2 separate regions of the Homo sapiens genome follow, and region 2 is linked to region 1. Evidence: promoter capture Hi-C in human tissues and cell types (Jung and others, 2019). All regions are on one chromosome and are shown on one strand. Each heading gives the region's core, a stretch centred on a gene start or on the middle of the fragment in contact. The rest is flanking DNA. Distances are from core to core; before and after follow the strand shown. Region 1 holds the start of CYP2C18 (cytochrome P450 family 2 subfamily C member 18). Region 2 has its middle 46 kb from the start of CYP2C9.

What was found. The method cuts DNA at HindIII sites, captures the fragments that hold promoters and counts their contacts. A contact is called where the count stands out against the background at its distance.
Region 2: a fragment that was not itself captured here is called in contact with the fragment with the promoter of CYP2C18 in region 1 in 5 of the 25 tissues and cell types used here (adrenal gland, hippocampus, small bowel and 2 more).

The regions. Positions count from the first base shown.
Region 1 is chr10:94,682,332-94,685,481 of GRCh38, reverse strand. It overlaps CYP2C18 (cytochrome P450 family 2 subfamily C member 18), which reads right to left and starts at 1,753. Exons shown (of 9, transcript NM_000772.3): 1 at 1,495-1,753. The coding sequence starts at 1,662. The HindIII fragment of the contact is 11,159 bases long and covers 1-3,150 here.
Region 2 is chr10:94,891,288-94,894,449 of GRCh38, reverse strand. No RefSeq gene overlaps it. Among named protein-coding and RNA genes, the nearest start is that of CYP2C9, 46 kb to the left of the region's middle. The HindIII fragment of the contact is 5,262 bases long and covers 1-3,162 here.

The DNA.
Region 1 (3,150 bases), core at 504-3,003:
TGGTCTAGGCAATGATTTCTTGGATATGATCCTAAAAGTACAGGCCATGAAAGCAAAACTAGACAAATGAGATTCTGACCACCCAAAATACTTAGAAACTCAAATTACTCAATAACAAATAAATAATTCTATTTAAAACGAGCAAAGGGGTCAAGTGCAATGGCTCATGTCTGTAATTCCAGCACTTTGAGAGACAAAGGTGGGTGGATTGCTTGAGCCCAAGAGTTCAAGACCAGCCTGGACAACATAATGAGACCACATCTCTACAAAGCATTAAAAAATTATCCAGGCATGGTGGCATACACCTGTAGCCCCAGCTACTTGGGGGTCTAAGGTAGAAGGATGGCTTGAGCCCAGGAGCTCAAGGCTGCAGGGACCATGATCCCATCACTACACTCCATCCTACAACAGAGCAAAACCCTGTCTCTATTAATTAATTAATTAATTAATTAATTAAATGGGCAAAGGATTTGAGTAGACATTTTTCAAAAAAAGACATACAAATGGCCAAGATATATTTTTTAAATACTCAACAAATTTAATCATCAGAGAAATGCAAATTAAAACCACAATGAGATAACTCATCACAACTCATAGATAAGATATTATTATTATCAAAAAGATAAAAAGATAACAAGTGTTGACAAAGATGTGGAATAAAGTGAACCTTGGGTATGTAAATTAGCATTGTGATTTGAGAAAACAGTATGGATGTTCCTAAAAAAAACAAAAATAGAACTATCAGATGATCCAGCAATCCCACTACCAGTATATACCCAAAGGAATTGAAGTCAGTATGTGGAAGACATGTCTGTACTTCCATGTTTATTGCAGTGCTATTGACAATAGCCAAGATATGGAAACAACCTAAGTGTTCATCAATAAATTAATGGATTTTGTATGTGACATATATGTACAATGAAATGCTATTCAGCCTTTTAAAGAGGAAAAAATATTCTTATTTATGACGGCATGGATGAATCTACAGAACATCATATTAATTAAATAAGCCAGGCAGAGAGAGGCAAATATCATATATGATCTCACTTCTATGTGGAATCTTAAAAAGTTAAACTCAGAGAAGTAGAGATTAGAATGGTGGCTACCAGAGGCTGGCAGGTGGAGATGGGCCAAATAAGGGGATACGTTGGTCAACAGGTACAGAGTTACACTTAGATAGGAGGAATAAGCTCGGGTGTTCTATTGGACAGCAAGGTGACTATAATTAATATTAATGTACTGTATATTTCAAAACAGCTAAAAAAGAGGATTTTAAATGTTCTCACTACAAAGAAATGACAAATATTTGAGATGATGGATATGCTAATTACCCTGATATGATCAATTCACAATCTATACATGTATCAAAATGTAATATTGTACCCCATTAATATATACAATTATCATTTATCACTTTAAAATGAAATAAAACTTTAAGAATTGTGAGGTTAAATACACCTTGTACATTACTGGAGGAACATAAAGCATACTTACATTGGTTAAGGATTTGCTCATGTCCTTAACATCTAACTGCAGGATATTTCCAATAATCGGGAGAGGAGTGGGGCCAGACGGGAGCCTCCCTCTTCCAGAGCTCTGCCTCCAGAGTGAAAGGAGAAACAAACAGGAGAGACAGAGCACCAGAGCCACAGCTGGATCCATTGAAGGCTTCTCTTCTTAGTAAGACAACTGCGGGCTTTCACTTCAAGGCTTTTATAACACTCCCTACTAATCCACCTGTGATTCTGACTCTGACTGTGACTAGTCAGCAAAAAGCACTTTAATCTCTCTTTTGAATGAACATTGGCTCACTGAAGAAGATAAAAATAAGGTGTTCTTTTTTCTTGTTCTTTCCGGTGCCCCACCCTGGAGATTCTGGTTTAACTAGTCTGAAGCAGAGCCCAGGATTTTGTTGTTGTTGTTGTTGTTTTTCCTTGAGATGGAGTTTCGCTCTTGTTGCCCAGGCTGGAGTGCAATGGCAAGATCTCAACTCACTGCAGCCTCCACTTCCTGGATTCGAACGATTCTGCCTCAGCTTCTGGCGTGGCTGGGATTACAGGAATGCACAACTACGCCCAGGTGATTTTGTATTTTTAGCAGAGACAGGGTTTCACCATGTTGGCCAGGCTGGTCTCCCTAAGTGCTGGGATTACAGGCATGAGCCACCGTGCCTGGCTAGGCCTAGGTTTTTTCAAACAGCCCAGGTGGTTCCACTGTGCAGCCAAAATTGAGAAACAATGAAATAAATTATTTCATCAAAAAATTATTCAAAATTTTGGATTTTTAGATTGATGAGCAGTTGGAAATATGACTTTGAGGGCAATCTGTGTATTATATTCCTTGTACATAAAATAATGTTTATCCTATTGAGAGGAGTTAGCCAGCTTGCATTAGGCAGGCAGTAAGGGAAGGGTCCCCAGAGAACCTCCAACCCTTCCAGGTCATTGCCCAATCCACAAAAACCCCAAGTACTTACACTAGATGTTTTGTGCAGATAAGGGAACTTGCACAGGGAGCTTGCCTAAATATGCCCACAGTGAAAAATTCCTACCTTTAACACATGCGCAGGAAGGGAAATAAATCAATATGGAGTGGCTTAGACTAAGAGCCCACACGCGCAATGGAAGGAAGGGGTGGAAACACCAGGAATTCACGCCTTATGCAAATAAGTATCCCAGCCTCATCAGCTTTTCTATAAAAGTCCTGGTATTCAACTGTGAAGTGGCAATCTGCAACCTGCTTTCAGGGCCTCTCTCTTTGCTGAGAGTTTTCCTTTCACTTAATAAATTCTACTCCACTCACTCTCCAGTGTCTGTGTGCCTAATTCTTCCTGCATAAGACAACTCGGACCTAGCTGAGCTAAGGATCTGCAAGACTGCAACACTATAATGCTTTCTCAAACACTAGATCATTTTCCTTGAAAATGAGATCCTTTTGAAATATTTTAATGTAGTACTAACATTACAGCTGCCTAAACATAAAGCAGCTAACAAACTCATTCATCTTAAATGGCTAAACCGGTTATCAATTAACTAAGTAAACATACACACCTTTTTCCATTAAACCCCGTGAAAAACACTGGACGGCTGAGAATATTATTTCATATTTTCCAAATGGGGAAAGGGAGACTCTAGGAGAACAGATGACCTG
Region 2 (3,162 bases), core at 127-2,626, 210 kb before region 1:
TTAGTTGGTTATTTTGCTCATTACTTGATGCAGTTTCTTCCTAGCCTCGATGGTCTTTAAAATTTGGCATGTTTTTGCAGTGGCTGGTACCAGTTGTTCCTTTCCATGTTTAGTGCTTACTTCAGGAGCTCTTTTAGGGCAGGCCTGATGGTGATAAAATCTCTCAGCATTTGCTTTTCTGTAAAGGATTTTATTTCTCCTTCACTTATGAAGCTTAGTTTGGCTGGATATGAAATTCCGGGTTGAAAATTCTTTCTTTAAGAATGTTGAATATTGGCCCCCACTCTGTGCTAGCTTGTAGAGTTTCTGCTGAGAGATCAGCTGTTAGTCTGATGGGCTTCCCTTTGGGGGTAACCGAACCTTTCTCTCTGGTGCCCTTAATATTTTTTCCTTCATTTCAACTTTAGTGAATCTGACAATTATGTGTCTTGGAGTTGCTCTTCTCAAGGAGTATCTTTGTGGCATTCTCTGTATTTCCTGAATGTGAATGTTGGCCTGCCTTGCTAAATTGGGGAAGTTCTCCTGGATAATATCCTGCAGAGTGTTTTCCAGCTTGGTCCATTCTCCCTGTCACTTTCAGGTACACCAATCAGACGCAGATTTGGTCTTTTCACATAGTCCCATATTTCTTGGAGGCTTTGTTCATTTCTTTTTATTCTTTTTTCTCTAGGCTTCCCTTCTCACTTCATTTCATTCATCTTCCATCACTGATACTCTCACTTCCAGTTGATCGCATCAGCTATGGAGGCTTGTGCATTCATCATGTTGTTCTCGTGCCATGGTTTTCAGCTCCATCAGGTCCTTTAAGGACTTCTCTGCATTGATTATTCCAGTTATCCATTTGTCTAATTTTTTTCAAGGTTTTTAACTTCTTTGCCATTGGTTCAAACTTCCTCCTTTAGCTTGGAGTAGTTTGATCTTCTGAAGCCTTCTTCTCTCCACTCACCAAAGTCATTCTCCATCCAGCTTTGTTCCATTGCTGGTGAGGAGCTCTGTTCCTTTGGAGGAGGAGAGGTGCTCTGGTTTTTAGAGTTTCCAGTTTTTTGGCTCTGTTTTTTCCCCATCTTTGTGGTTTTATGTACCTTTGGTCTTTGATGATGGTGATGTACAGATGGGTTTCTGGTGTGGATGTCCTTTCTGTTTGTTAGTTTTCCTTCTAGCAGTCAGGACCCTCAGCTGCAGGTCTGTTGGAATTTGCTGGAGGTCCACTCCAGACCCTGTTTGCCTGGGTATCAGCAGCAGTGGCTGCAGAACAGCGGATATTGGTGAACCGCAAATGCTGCTGCCTGATCATTCCTCTGGAAGTTTTGTTTCAGAGGAGTACACGGCCATGTGAGGTGTCAGTCCTTCCCTACTGGGGATTGCCTCCCAGTTAGGCTACTCAGGGTTCAGGGGCCCACTTGAGGAGGCAGTCTGCCCATTCTCAGATCTGAAGCTGTGTGCTGGGAGAACCACTACTCTCTTCAAAGCTGTCAGACAGAGACATTTAAGTCTGGAGAGGTTACTGCTCTTTTTGTTTGTCTGTGCCATGCCACCAGAGATGCAGCCTACAGAGGCAGGCAGGCCTCCGTGAGTTGTGGTGGGCTCCACCCAGTTTGAGCTTCCTGGCCACTTTGTTTACCTACTCAAGCCTTGGCAATGGTGGGCACCCCTCCCCCAGCCTCACTGCCACCTTGCAGTTAGAGCTCAGACTACTGTGCTAGCAATGAGTGAGGCTCTGTGGGCATAGGATCCTGTGAGCCATGTGCAGGATATAATCTCCTGGTGTGCAGTTTGTAGAGCCCATTGGAAAAGTGCTTTGTTAGGGTGGGAGTGACCTGATTTTCCAGGTGCCATGTGTCACCCCTTTCTTTGACTAGGAAAGGGAATTCCCTGACCCATTGTGCCTGCCAGGTGAGGCAATGCCTCACCCTGCTTTGGCTCATGCACGGTGCACTACACCCACTGTCCTGCACCCACTGTCTGGCACTCCCCAGTGAGATGAACTCAGTACCTCAGTTGGAAATGCAGAAATCACCCATCTTCTGTGTCACTCACACTGGGAGCTGTAGACTGGAGCTGTTCTTATTTGGCCATCTTCTCTTATTGTAGTGTTAATTTGCATTTCAGTGAAGCTTCATGATGCTGAGTGCTTTGGCAATATCAAGTCTTTTTTGAAGGGCTTGCATAGTTTAGGTATGAGTCCATTGTTGGCTTTATATATATCATTTATATATGTATATGCAATTGTGTATATATGTGTATATATATATGCATATATAATACAGTTATGTAATTTTAATAACTATAAATGTAACAAAAAGTTGGAAGTACAGAGCATTTTCTCTATTTTGAACATTTGAGAGTATTTTCTGACCTAAAGTTCCAAACCTGAAATATTTTAGTATATAGCTCTTATAAGCAAGGCAATTTGACTATATAACCAAAATAAAACCTTCAAATTCAGGAAATTAATATTGATGCAATAGGGCCATCTAATCCTCATTTCCATTAGTGTTTCCTCAATAAGTACCAATGATATTCATTATATTCATTTCAGAATCCAGTTTGGAATCCTGAATGCCATTTTGCAACTAGTTGTCATGTCTCCTTAGTCAATCACAGCCTGACACAGTTCCTCAGTCTTTCCTCAACCTCCTTGACCTTGTCACTTTTGAAAAGCATAGGTTGGGAGTTTTTAAAATTTCTCTCCATTTGGGATTATCTGATGTTTTTTCATAATCAGATTCTGGTTATGCAGCTTTGGCAGGAATATCACAGAAGATGCTTTGACTTCTCATTGCAACATATCTGGTGACAAATAATTTCAATCTGTCGCATTATGGGTGATGTCTACTTTGATTTTTTATTATGGTGTCTGGTTGTGTCCTCCACCATAATGTTATTCTTCTTACATTTGTAATTAAGAAATACTTTGTGGGTAGATTCTTTGATTCTATATCTATTTGTGGGTAGATACTTTGATACTGCATAACTATAATATATAACTGTATATTCCCTATCAAGTTTTTAATGTATTCATGTATCATTATGGACATAATGATATAAATAAATCAATCACGAATTCAGTTGTGTTCAATGGGTTATAATCCATTATAACATTATTTACTTTGGTGCTCAAATTATCTTCTAATGACTGGATTCTGCGTCCCTTTTTCTTGT